Linked DNA regions of Homo sapiens: regions 2 and 3 are each linked to region 1. The links are contacts of gene promoters, found by promoter capture Hi-C in blood cells and fetal thymus (Javierre and others, 2016). All regions are on one chromosome and are shown on one strand. The core of a region is centred on a gene start or on the middle of the fragment in contact, and the rest is flanking DNA. Distances in the headings are between cores, read along the strand shown. Region 1 holds the start of SNRPB (small nuclear ribonucleoprotein polypeptides B and B1). Region 2 overlaps NSFL1C (NSFL1 cofactor). Region 3 overlaps FKBP1A (FKBP prolyl isomerase 1A).

The links. The method cuts DNA at HindIII sites, captures the fragments that hold promoters and counts their contacts. A CHiCAGO score of 5 or more calls a contact.
Region 2: a fragment that was not itself captured here is called in contact with the fragment with the promoter of SNRPB in region 1 in 1 of 17 cell types (total B cells); the score reaches 5.6 in total B cells.
Region 3: a fragment that was not itself captured here is called in contact with the fragment with the promoter of SNRPB in region 1 in 1 of 17 cell types (fetal thymus); the score reaches 5.4 in fetal thymus.

Annotation. Positions count from the first base shown.
Region 1 is chr20:2,468,604-2,472,891 of GRCh38, reverse strand. It overlaps SNRPB (small nuclear ribonucleoprotein polypeptides B and B1), which reads left to right and starts at 2,103. Exons shown (of 7, transcript NM_003091.4): 1 at 2,103-2,204. The coding sequence starts at 2,202. RefSeq lists enhancers at 2,094-2,143, 2,154-2,203, 2,364-2,483. The HindIII fragment of the contact is 1,844 bases long and covers 1,675-3,518 here.
Region 2 is chr20:1,461,239-1,465,868 of GRCh38, reverse strand. It overlaps NSFL1C (NSFL1 cofactor), which reads left to right. Exons shown (of 9, transcript NM_016143.5): 2 at 1,443-1,540. Among named protein-coding and RNA genes, the nearest start is that of NSFL1C, 3.3 kb to the left of the region's middle. The HindIII fragment of the contact is 2,711 bases long and covers 95-2,805 here.
Region 3 is chr20:1,385,825-1,390,130 of GRCh38, reverse strand. The region is part of intron 2 of FKBP1A (FKBP prolyl isomerase 1A); the gene reads left to right. All of the region lies in intron 2 of FKBP1A-SDCBP2 (FKBP1A-SDCBP2 readthrough (NMD candidate)), which reads left to right. Among named protein-coding and RNA genes, the nearest start is that of MIR6869, 5.0 kb to the left of the region's middle. The HindIII fragment of the contact is 3,972 bases long and covers 1-3,236 here.

The DNA of each region.
Region 1 (4,288 bases), core at 854-3,353:
TCAGTTCCTCTGCCTTTATTTATTTTTTTCATATCACTCTAATGTTACATTGCATACTTATTTATTTGGTTTACTATGTCTTTCTCAGTAGGATGTAAAGCTCCGTGAGGGAAAGGACTCTATCCCAATAATGGTGCATGGCCTTAGTAGATGCTAAATAAAAATGATTTTAAATGCATGCATGAATGAAGTGTTAGGCAGCTGGGTAAGGTGGGGGCAAATGAACAGCTGAGGAGCCAGACGGACCTATATTCCCACTCTGACTCCGCCACTTTGGGCAACATAATTCATTTCTATGAGGCTTCGCCTCTTCATCTACAGGTGACAGGAAACGGGACAACAGAACACACCCTTTAGAGATGGTGTGAAGATGGCAAAGCACCAAGGTGGAAGCTCTCCTTGCTGGGTTTGAGGAACAGCAAGGAGATTAGTGTGACTGGAGAAGGATGAATGAGGGCAATGTTGACGGAGATGAATGAGGTTGGAGAGGAGCGCAGAGCTAGATTTTATTCCATGTGTGCTGGGAAGTTTTTGGTAAGTGGAGACCAGGACATGACATCATCTGATATCCCAGTACGTTTAGAAGGATCCCTCTGGCTGCCGTGAGAACAAGAAAGGAAGCAAAGAGACAAGTTACGGGCTCGTTCAATGATCCAAGACAGAGACGATGGTGGCTATGACTAGAGTGGACGCAATGGAGTGGGTGACAACAATCATATTCAAGATAATTTGAAGGTGGGGGCCACAGGATTTGCTGATGAATTTGATTATTCGATGGCAGAGAAAGAGAAGAATGAAATATGCTTCAAATTTGTCATTTTCTTTTTTTTCTTTTTTAATCCAAGAAACTTCGGGGATGGGGAACACTGGTGAAGTGGTTTTAGAAACAGTGAATAGAATCAAGAATTCAGTTTTCAACATGTTAAATTTGGTATACCTATTAGACATTCACATCACGCTGGCAGCTGGATATAAAGGGCCAAGAGTTAAATGAAGAGACCAAGGTTAGAGGAACAAACTTGAAAGCCTTGGGTGTATATGCTGTATTTAAAAGTCATAGGAAGGGCCCAGTGTGATGGTTCACGCCTGTAATTCCAGCACTTTGGGAGGCCAAAGTGGGTGGATCAGGAGTTCGAGACCAGGAGTTGAGGTCAGGAGTTCGAGACCAGCCTGGCCAACATGGCAAAACCCCGTCTCTACTAAAAATACAAAAATTAGCCGAGTGTGGTGGCACAGGCCTGTATTCCCAGCTACTCGGGAGGCTGAGGCAGGAGAATCGCTTGAACCGGGGAGGCAGAGGTTGCAGTGAGCCGAGATTGTGCCACTGCACTCCAGCCTTGGTGACAGACTGAGACTCTGTCTCAAAAGAAAAAAAAAAGTCATAGAAAAAAAATAAATGTCATACGACTGGATGCGATTATCAGCAAATATGGGTAGAGCCCTTATTTTGTGCTAAAGTGTTCTAGGCACTACAGCAATGAGTAATACACAAAGAGAAAAATTCACACCCTTATGGATCTTACATTCTAATGGGGAGGGGATAATAAAATAACTAACAAAAATATACAGCGTGTTAGATAGCAAGAGGGAAATACAGGAGAGATGAGGATGAGGTGGGTGGGAAGGTTACAGGATGGCTAGGGAAATCCTCACTGGGAAAATGTTATTTAAGCTTAAACCTTGAAAGAGGTGAGGGCAGCAGCCTTCTGGTATACCTTGGGGACTACCATTCCAGGCAGAGGCGAAAGCAAATGCAGAGGGGCTGAAAAAGGAGCACGTCCAGCCAGTGGAGGGAAAAGCAAGAATAGTGACTGTAGAGGAGAGAGCCGGGGAGGGTGATGGGAAATGAGGACCGAGAGGTTAATGGGAAAGGCGGGGTGAAGAGAAATGAGTGTGACACAGAGCAGCTCTCAGTACGGATTTAAGCTAGGAAGGTGTCCAAACAGGAACTTAAGGCTCTCCTTACGTCAAAGCCGGATGTTAACGCCCAGTCCCCAGGCCCCGCCTCTGCTCGGCAGAAGCTCCGCTCCGGGGCCGGAACTCCAGGGCTAGTGAGCTGGACCGGAAGTAGGTTTCTACCCGACCGCATTTTACGTGGTGCTGCATTTCCGGTAGCGGCGGCGGGAAATCGGCTGTGGGAGAGAGGCTAGGCCTCTGAGGAGGCGAATCCGGCGGGTATCAGAGCCATCAGAACCGCCACCATGGTAAGGAGGGCACAGGCTGGCGGCGCGGGAGCTTCCGAGTCTGTTGTGGAGTGGGAACCGCGACTGATCGGGGAGGAAGCCGTGGGTTGGAGCCACTTAGGGCGGTGAAGGCCTGGGCCGAGGCCGCTCGGTCTGGGCGGGAAAGACCAGGACCTTGGCGGTTCGGCTAGGCATGGGGTCGAGGAAAAGGTTGGAACCGGTGTCGGAGGCCGAGGTCGCTCGGCAGGGGCGAGGGTAGAACCGCGGCTCTCGACACCGCTGTAGCCATAATTCCTGGGACCCAGTAGGCACTAAGTTAACTTTTGCCGAATAAATATATGTCCCGGGCTTCGGAGCAGGCACTGGAGCCGCAGGGGGACCCGGTAAAAGGCTCAGACTTGCGGAAGTTTGTGAGTCTGAGAAAGAGTTGGCGGAAGTGGGTGGAAGGGGCTCGTGGACCACGCTAGAGTCTCGCTAGGTCTGCTGGATGGAGAGGAGGGCGGAGGAGGGTGATGGCGAATGGAGGAAGAGCTCCACTCAGTTGCTCATCACGTTTCCGTGTTTGCCTGTGCCTGACTTCTCAGGCGCTGGGGCTACTCTCTGAAATATGTTTGCTTCCTTCACAGAGGTAGCTGGGGACACATAATATAATTCAGTGTGGTCATTCGGTAAAAGTAACGGCAGCGGGGCGGGGTAAGAATGTTTTCTCAAATAGATGGTTCCTGAGCAGATTCCTAAAAGATTAGCAAGAATGTTCCCGGCGAAAATGGGGGGAATATTACAGACCCGGAGAACTGAAGGAACAAAGGCTGAAGGGTAACAAGATTTAAAAAGTTACTGGATTTTTCTGCGTTTGTTGACTGAGAAAAAGTTGCTGGAGGAGAAAGGAAGAAAGAAGGGAAGACGGGAAGAATTGGCAGGAGGCTAGTTACTAAAGGCCTTGCATGTTAATTTTACCTCAGTGGTGGTGAGGCATGTCATTGAAGGATTTAATTTAATTTATTTTTATTTTTTTGAGACGGAGTTTTGCTTTTGTTGCCCAGGCTGGAGTGCGGTGGATCGATCAGGGTTCACTGCAAACTCCACCTCCCGGGTTCAAGCGATTCTCCTGCCTCAGCCTCCCAAGTAGCTGGGATTGTAGGTACCCGCCACCACACTTGGCTAATTTTTTGTATTTTTAGTAGAGACGGGGTTTCACCATGTTGGCCAGACTGGTCTCGAACTCCTGACCTCAGTTAATCCACCCACCTTGGCCTCCCAAAGTGCTGGGATTACAGCCGTGAGCCACCACACCCTGCCCACTGAAGGATTTTAACCAGCAAAATGACATAAGCTTAGTGGTGTTTAGAAAGATTGCTCTAGCTCTGGCATGTATATTCGATGGGACTGGAAGCAGGGAAACCTGGTAGGATATTGTTTGGATAACTGGTTAGAATAGGCGCTGGATTCATTTTGTCTAGGTTCCAACACAGCTTCCCAGCTGTGAAACTGGGCAAGTTACTTAACCTCTCCTAGCCTCAGTGACCTCATCTGTAAAATAGGGATAATAATGGGCCCAATTTTGGGGATTAAATGAGATGTACTGTGCTTATCACAGTGCCAGATACACAGTGAGCACCCAGTAAACATTAGTTGAGCTGGACCAGTGAATGTTGCCCTAAAGGTTCAGATCCCTTGTGGTTAGAAGCTGGTTAAAATGGTCATTGAATGGAAACTGAACCACCTAACCTGAGGGAGGCTCGCAGTATCTTTGTGTGGAGTCAAGTTTTGTTTTTGTTTTTTTGAGATGGAGTCTTTCCCTGTCACCCAGGCTGGAGTGCAGTGGCATGATCTCAGTTCACTGCAGCCTCCACCTCCCAGGTTCAAGCGATTCTCCCATCTCAGTCTCCCGAGTAGCTGGGATTACAGGCACCTGCCACCACGTGTGGCTAATTTTTGTAATTTTAGTAGAGACGGGGCTTCGCCATGTTAGCCAGGCTGGTCTTGAACTCCTGACCTAAGGTGTTCTGCCCACCTCGGCCTCCCAAAATGCCGGGATTGCAGGAGTGAGCCACTGAGCCCGGCCATGGAGTCAAGGTTTTGATCTGCATATTTGCAGGTTCAGA
Region 2 (4,630 bases), core at 201-2,700, 1.0 Mb after region 1:
TAAGTAACTTGCTCAAGGCCTCACTAGCTACCAGGCAGAAGAGGTAGAAGTGGAACCCAGTTCTGTCTGATTGCAAGCAGACAGAGCCCAAGCTTTAAACCACCATGTGCCAAGCACTTTACATAATATGATTCGTTGGATCCTAGCAACACTATGAGGTAAAGACTAGACCCATTTTATGGATGAGGAATTGGAAGCACAGAGGGCAAAGAATTTGCTCAGGGTCACATAGCCAGTAAGTAGCGGGGTTGGAATTTGAACTGAGTCTGCTGCCAAACGTAAATTACTCCCCAAACATAAGAATTCGGTAAAGCATCACACCTAGATCACACCTAGACACAATGGGAAGCCCCTATGCTGGGCAGAAATAAAAAGTTTCTACCTGAAAGACCTAAAAGCACACAGTGTTGTGACCAACAGATCTTCTGTCTCGTTCCCCTCACATTGTAGTGGGGAAACTGAGGATCATGCATGTGACTTGCCTGGCAGGAACAGGACTTGAATGTAGGCTCCCTGAGAATGCCAGTTCACTACATGGCCTGAGACAGCACACTGCCTCCCAGCAGATTACTTTTATCCCTTGACAGCTCACTGTCTCCTGTGAAGTTGGTGACCCTGAGGACAGAGGCCATGTCTATTTCATCTCTGTGACCTCAATGCTTTCTTGTGTTTGTGCAAAGCAAGTGATTAGTGAATGCCTGTCCGTTGAGTTGGTGACAGAGATGTCACAAATGACCAAAGGATTCCCATATTCCTTCTGTATGTGTAAACCTAAGATGCGAGTATGCATAAATCTTAATGGATTATCTCATCCAGTGTGCAGGTTGGTGAGACAGGTACCCCCATTTCACAGATTAGGAAACAACTTGAAAGAAAGGAAAAGTAGCAACCTGGACTGACTCCACAGTTCCTGACTCCGGGCTGTACTGGAAGCGCTTAAGAGTGAGGGCCTAAGCACACTAGCAGGGATGGAACCTGGCTCCTCTCTTTACCAGTTGTGTAAACTTGAACAAATTTTTTTTTAATCCTCAGTGCTTCTGTATCAACTATAAAATGAGATGATAAGAGTACTAATAGCATAGAGTTCTTGAGGATTAAACAAATTAACGTATGTAGAATGCTCAGAACAACCTGGCATGTAAATGCTCACTAAATGTGTGCTACTTTTACTAGATCACGTTTCTTCATAAAATGAGAATAAAGAGTGTCTTCCACCCCAGCCATTCTTACTGCCTTCTTTTCACCTTAGTGGGTGGAATTTGTTTCAGTTGACACGAAGACTAACAGCTGAGCTGTTAACCTTCTGGTCTAATTTTCTTTGGCCCATGGATGCAAGCTACCTTGTAAGTGTTGGCCATGTCTGTATTCCTTTGTGCTCAAAGGAGATGTGCGTTAGGTGAAGGCCTGTTTAAGGGTCCCAAGGTACTACCTCTCTGTTTCAGATCGCGCTAGCGAGCTTTTATGAGGACGGAGGGGATGAAGACATTGTGACCATTTCGCAGGCAACCCCCAGTTCAGTGTCCAGAGGCACAGCCCCCAGGTAAGGGCCAGCTTCAATTATCGCTACATGAGTGTTTCCAGCAGTGAAGAGGAGCTATTTTCTGACCAGAGCGTTCAGGCCTGGGTGTGTGGACCAGGTCTGAATGAGAAGGTTAGACTGAGTCAATGGGTAGTACTTCCCAGCAGGCCTCAGTCATTTCCTATACAGAGATGCATGACTTTTAACTGGGTGTGGTTTATGGTTCAATCCTGGGGGAAACCACAAACCTACTTTTAAGACTTTTACTTATGTAGTATGAGGAATGACCACTGCAACTCTAAAGTTTTTAAGTAAAAGCCAAAAAACTTCCTTTCAAGGGTGCTATAGATGTGAAAGTTTAGGCGAAATGACTTAGGAAAGCTGTTTTGATATTTTAGGATGCCCGTTACCTTATTAAGAAGTCTTGTACAAAATAAACCTGTGTAACCCACCCTTTGCCAAGTTGATTAGGGAGACCTTGTCTTACTAGGTAAAACAGTGTTAACCTTTGCAATCCCATTTGCATCCCCTGTCGCTGCCTCCCACAGCACCCACAGCAGATTACTCCTGTGCTCTGCAGAGTGAGACAATGCTGGTCTTCCAGGAGACAGGCAGGGGTGCTTCCTGTAAAGGTGTCTGAACCTTTACAGAGAGTGTGTAAGCAGAGGTGTCTCCCCTCTCTGCTTTCGCCTTATTGCTTCTACTCTCTAGTGTATGTTTTAGCCAGGAAATTTTATTTGGGTTTGAATTCAACCCCAGAATATAACCAACAGTGTTTCTTTGCCATGAAGTGGTAAATTATGTTTCTCTCTAAAGGCAACTGAGGTTTAAAATATATTTCCTCCCTTCGAAGAAGGAGCACTAACCCCAGATCTCATTGCTTTCTTCTTTCCCTAACTCCCATCCAGAGAAAAGAGGTAGGAGGAAAGTGATCTTGTAACTGTTTGCACGTGCTAACCTATGAGATGTTGGTGATGGCACATCTGGGTATTACTGCTTGGGACATGTTGTTAGGGTAAGTGCTGTTCTTGCAGCTGCTAGTAGAGATGGCTGATTTTCTGGGGTATGAGTCTTTGACAGCCACCTTAGGGTGTTGTTGGGATGTTGGCATGTCAGAATTATAGAGGGGGAGAGATTTAAACTTAGTCTCTAATGCCAGTTACATGTTTACTCCTTTCTTTTCTCCAGTAATCCCAAAGTTCTATTAAGGCAGTGGTTTATTAGCATGGGCCCAGGAGCCTGACTGCGTTGGTTCAAATCCCAGCTCTGCCACTTAAGTAAAAGCTTTGTGACCTTGGGCAGGTTACTTAACGTTTCAGTTCCTCATTTTCCTCGCCTGTCAAATGGTAATGATAGTGCCTACCACATGGGAGACTGAATGAGTTAATACTTACAAAGCAAATAGAACACAGCATGTGTTGTTATTATAATTTTAGTATTATCATTTTTAGCATTCATTCTCAATTGACCTGTTTTGTTTACTCTATTCCCCAACAAGTATGTACATTTAAGAATAGGCATAAAAGTGGCCAGGCGCGGTGGCTCACACCTGTAATCCCAGCACTTTGGGAGGCCGAGACTGGTGGATCACGAGGTCAGGAGATTGAGACCATCCTGGCTAACATGGTGAAACCCCGTCTCTACTAAAAATACAAAAAAAATTAGCCAGGTGTGGTGGCAGGAGCCTGTCATCCCAGCTACCCGGGAGGCTGAGGCAGGAGAATGGCGTGAACCCGGGGGGCGGAGCTTGCAGTGAGTCGAGATTGCGCCACTGCACTCCAGCCTGGGCGACAGAGCAAGACTCTGTCTCAAAAAAAAAAAAGGCATAAAAGTAAAAGAATCAAGGACATAGAGTTTAACATTAGAACTGAAGTGAGTAAAAAGACTGGACGCACATTTGGTCCAAGAGGCATTGCTTTATTGCTCTGGTTAAGGCTCAGACTTGGTAGTAGGCTTAGAAAAGAACTGAAGACAAGAAAAAGGGAGGGAGGAGGGCGCAGTGTGTTGCATGGTTTGTCCTTGTTGAGGAGGAAAGCAAATGCTAGGACTACATTCTCAGGAAAAACCAAACTTGTGCTAGCACCTCAGAGGAATTCTGTGTGGGGCCTGCCTCTGCTTTGACCTGGCAGTTGCAGGACACTTAGCCAGCTGCTGCCCTCTCCCATCCCCCACTTTTGACTTCTCACATACCCTTTTATGTTGTCACTGCTGCCTCAGAGCAACACCCAACTCTAGAATAAGGATTCTTAATATGGAGCCCGAGAACCCTAGGAGGAATCTATGAAATGAGCGTGAGAAGGTCTCTATTAATACCTGAAATTACAGGCAAAAGTTTGTGTACATGTTAGCAGGTATCTTTTGTGGCAAGAGAGTCCATGGCTTTTATGAGATTCTCAAAGGGCTGACAGACATAAAAATGTTAACCATTGCTATAGGAGACAGTTTAAACTCAGTAATAACAGCTGCCATTTATTGAGTATTTACGAGTGAGGCACTGAGTTAAGCTTTTACATGAACATCTTTTTAGTCCTCACAGCAACCCTGTGAGGTTAGTACTGTTGTTAGTACTGTTAGCACTGAGGTTAGTACTATTCCTATTTTACAGATGAGGACACTGAAGTTGGGTATCTTTCCAAGATCACAGAGCTAGTAAAACAAGGATTTAAGTGTAGGGCTGTTTTCTACATTCAGCATTTCAGCTCTCAGCCCCAACAATGTTCTGCCTCTTCTTGTGGACATTCAAAGTCCTCCAGAGTTTACCCTTGGACCCACCTTCCTAATCTGATTCCCTTTTCCTCATTTCTTAAATCCTTTGTTCCAACCAAACTGATTTCTTTGGTGCTCTAATTCTTCCTTATTTTTGGTTCTCCTGCTTTTGTTTGAGCCTCTCACCTGATCAGGTGTGCCCGCTCTCTTGCTTTCTGCCTATACAAATCCCATGCATCCTTCCATGTTTACCTCCATCCCCACTCTGCTGAGCGTGTTATTGCTAACCCTGTGACCAGGCTGCACGCCATAATTCTGTTCCACAGAACTCCAGTCACAACTATCACTCCTTCAGTTCTTTGACTATATCCATGTACTACTGGGTGGCATCTCTCCCACATTGCC
Region 3 (4,306 bases), core at 1-2,500, 1.1 Mb after region 1:
GCAGAGCACAGACTGACCTTTACCACATGGATGCTTTAAATGCCACTAATGGCTGTCAGTCACCTTGATGTCACTCTCAAGGGTCCCTCTGGTGACTTCCGTGACCTTCTGGCAGAGCACAGCATGAGCAAGGCCTCAAAGGAATGCCTGCACTACCTCTGTGGTACCAGAGGGAAAATACAAAGTTCACTATCACCAGCTAAGCATCTCCTAGGAGCATGACAGGCATTGAGGTGGGAGGGAGGTGGTGGAAAGGTAAGCTGCCAAGTAAGTGCCTTTAGGAGCCAGGGAATTCTCATGGCGCCTCCCTGCTGCCTCCAGTAGCTTCGTCATCTTTACTGTTAGCTTGTCCTGGCACACAGCTAGGTTTAGACCTCTTTTACTTACTTCAGCAGGCCGTGTGCCTGCCATTGTGAGAGCAGCCCCAAGGGGATTGAAGGAATGTTTTCTTTTTTCTTCTTAAAAAGTAACTAACTGGACATTTTGTCCTTGGGATCAGGTTTAAGTCAGGTATAGCCTCCCGGTTTCTGACTGAGAAAAACCAGGAGCCCCTCAACCTCATGTCCTCAGGAGGTTGACTGGGAAGGCTGCTGAGGCTCCCGGGACAGGTGTGGCCACTTTGCTGCAGCCTCCCTCAAGCCCCTTGCTTTTCCTTAGCTTTGTTCCCCCCTCTCCTCTGCTTTATTCCATCCACTCCCTTGCTAGGTATCTCTTGGTTGGTGATCTGATGTCTGGAGGGAGGCTCACCCTCAGCAGAGATGCCTCAGATGGCTTCCCCTGACGTGTGCTGTCTTGAGGCACACAGGCTGTAACTGTTGGGCAGGGCTGCAACAAGTCCCTTTGCCTTCCCACAGCAGATGTTTTTTGAGCAACAGCAGCAAGCCAGGCTCTAGGGACATGGCTAGTGAACTAAATAGACAAAGACCTGATCTGGTGGGGCTTTGCTTATGATGAGGAGACTGATAGTATGGCCATGGAGCACATCAGGTAGTAAGAAGCGCTGGAGAGATTAAAGCAGAGTGAGGGATGGGAAGGGAAGTTGGCTGCTTTTCGTGAGGGTGATTGGAAAAGGCCTCTGAAAAAAATGGCATTTTAACATTCACTCAAAGGACATTGGAGAGGGAGCTACAGGGCTGTCTAGAGTATCCAGGCAGAGGGAAGAGCTAGTGCAGGACCCTGAGGCTGGAGCCTGCTCGGTGCATTAGAGGAACAGTAAGAAGACCGGTGCGTTAGAGGAACAGGAAGTGGATTGTGTGAAAGGGTATGTGGCAGGAGATGAGGGGATGGTGGAGCCTCGTTGGTTTTTATAAAAACGTTGCCTTTTTCTAACTCAGGTGAGAGCCACTGGCTGGCTTGGCTTTTAATGCCCGCCCCCGCCCCCCCAACCCACGCTCCTTCTGGCTACTGTGTGGACAATGGGCTTTTGGGGGCAAAGGCAGAAACAGGACACTGGTTGTATCCCAGGTGTGTGGAGTGCCAGCTCAGGCAGTGGGCAGAAGTGGTGCCAGGTGGACAGTGATCCCCAAAGAGCATGTGGGTTCTTCGCTGTGTTCTGATCTTGACCCTGCCATACAACGGGCTATGAGAGCTTGAACAAATTGTCCCACAGTTCCCAGCTTCCACATGCTGTCTATAAAATGGGAGTAACGATGCCTGCTGTGAAGCAAATGCCTATCGAGACTACCCAGTTGTCTCCAAAGTGTTGCTCTTTTTTAAAACCACAGTTCCATTGAGCCTCACTCATCGCAGTTGTTATGTCTGTAATCTCAGTCTAGAAGAGTCCTTACGCTGTTTTTTTCTTAATAACTCTGATTTCTTCAAAGAGAGCAGGCTAGTTATAGAATACTCCACATCTGTCTTACTGTTTTCTCATGGTATTGTTTAACTTGTTCCCTGCCTTGATTTTCTGAACCGGATGTTTAATCTTTTAAGTGTCTGAATAGATTCCGTTTAAACATTTTAGTGTGAGTACTTCATCCTCAGCACACATGGGAAACATCACTAGTTGTGATGCTAAATTTGATCTTTTCTGTAAAGGTACATTTTTCCCTTTGCATTTAGCAGTGATCTGTGGAGTGCTTAGGTAGCCATAGATGGTCTCTTGCTCATCAGCCTTTCACCTAGTGGTGTTTACACCATCTGATCATTCTCCCCTGAAGAAGTCACTGGCATTCACAAAGTGTTGATTTTTAAAATTCCTTCATTCTTTCTAAATTTATTAGCTGTTATCCTTCTATAAGATAAGGTAAAGTAATTCTTTACCTTTAAATACCAAATTTTATTTTTATTTTTTGAGACAGTGTCTCTGTCACTCAGGCTGGAGTGCAGTGGCTTGATCATGGCTCACTGTAGCCTCGACCTCCCAGACTCCCATCCCGGCCTCCCATCCGGCCTTCTGAATAGTTGGGCATACAGGTGCATGCCACCTGTCCTAATTTTTGTATTTTTTGTAGAGACGGGTTTCGCCAGGTTTCCCAGGCTAGTCTCAAACTCCTGGCCTCAAGTGATCCACCCTCCTTAGCCTCCCAAAGTGCTGGTAGTACAGGCATGAGCCACCGTGCCCAGCCTTTAATTACCAATTTTTAAAATGAAAAATGAATGTTAACTGATGGGGTATTGCCATTCCCAGTGGGGGCAAGTGACTTTTTCCCCCTCTATTTGCTTTGACTGTACTGTGGGCTGAAATTTTTTGTCAGGGCCTTAAGATCAATGATACCCATTATTCTTTTTGATGCTAATATCATCCTAAATTTGGCCAGTAGGAGCCCTTTAAGCTGGCTCCAGTACCTTTTTGACAGGCTCCCACCATTCCTTCATCCATTTCTCGGTTTCACTACTCTGGTCCAATTATCAGCCATCTTTCAAAGAGCTCTGGTTCCTTTCAGTGGGGTCCATGACCTTTTTTTTTCTTGGTAACAGCTTTATTGAATATAATTTACATACCATAAATTCACCTATTTACTCATAGATGTTTTAACTAGAACATTTTTAGGCTTAAACTGATTTTTATGAATTACTGAGGGGTTTATTGTATCCATAAACTGGAAATCATTTGTCTGCCTTGGAATTTTCTCTAAAAATATTGTCACCTGCTGTTTCCCATGGAAGAAGCCAAGGTTATGAATAACTTAATCACATAGCATTCAGTTCTCCCTTTGGTGCTCATGGTGACATTTGTTTATTTTTACTTCTATTTTTTCTTCTGTTTTTTTGTTTTCTTTTCCTGCTAAAAAGCTTAACCAAGTCTCTGCATTCCCTCCCCTGGACCCCTTTGATTTTGACCAGGTGTATTCTAGCAGTGCAGAAAGTCGGGGAGGTAGAAATAACCAGTTCTTAGATGCTACTGTCTCTTTCTGTTACATTTGCTCTTCCTCTCCCAGGAGCTCAAGCCACCTTGGCCTGCATTCATTCCTCGAATGCTCCAAGCCTTTTCCCACATGGAGGTCTCTGCCCCTTTGCTTAGGTGCCACCACACTGCCCCCACTCCCCACTGCATGACAGGCTCTTTTCTTTATAGCACAGCTTAAGTAACACTTTGGATGCATACATGCATGCTTCTAATTCTGCAACAATGCACCCATCTATTTTCTTAGCCCCCATCATAGTCAGGATCCGTGTAGTTAAACATCTGCTCTTTCCCCAACCGACTGAAGGCTCCAGGAGGCCAGACCCACACTAGTGTTGTTCTCCAAGGTCTCCCCATCAGTCTTGGCATAGAGTAGCTATTCAGTGACTGTTTGAATGAGTGGCCAGTTAGGACCTGGCATTCCCTCGGTCACTCAGTGAATATATAAGGAGCTGGGCAAAGCCTCAATGTTGCCCTCAAGAAGCTTACCCTGTAGGGAGTGGTCAGTTACAATGAAAGTACCTCAGGCAACCTACACCTATAGGCTAGAACTTCTTGGAGGAAGTGCCATTTGGTCTTGGGTGTGTATGGTGCAGTCAGGCAGGAGGAAAGCGTCTTCCAGGTATATACACAGGCCAGGAGGAGAAAAGGGTACCTTTGATATTTCTGTAAGTACTTGATGAATGTCTGCTATGTACAAGACACTGTCCTGGCTACCAAGAATTTAGGAGTGAAGAAGACACAGTTCCTGCCTTCATCTCACACTGTAGTGGAAAAGACATAATAAATATGATTAATAAGCAAGACTGTTGTGTATAAGCTAGTAAGTGTTAAGGAGGGAATAGGAAAAGGTTGAGGTTTTAGATAGATTGGCAAAGGCCTCAATGAGAAAGTGACATTTGAGCAAAGACTTGAAGGAGGTAAGGATGTAACCTATGTGACTGTTTGAGCAAGATCATT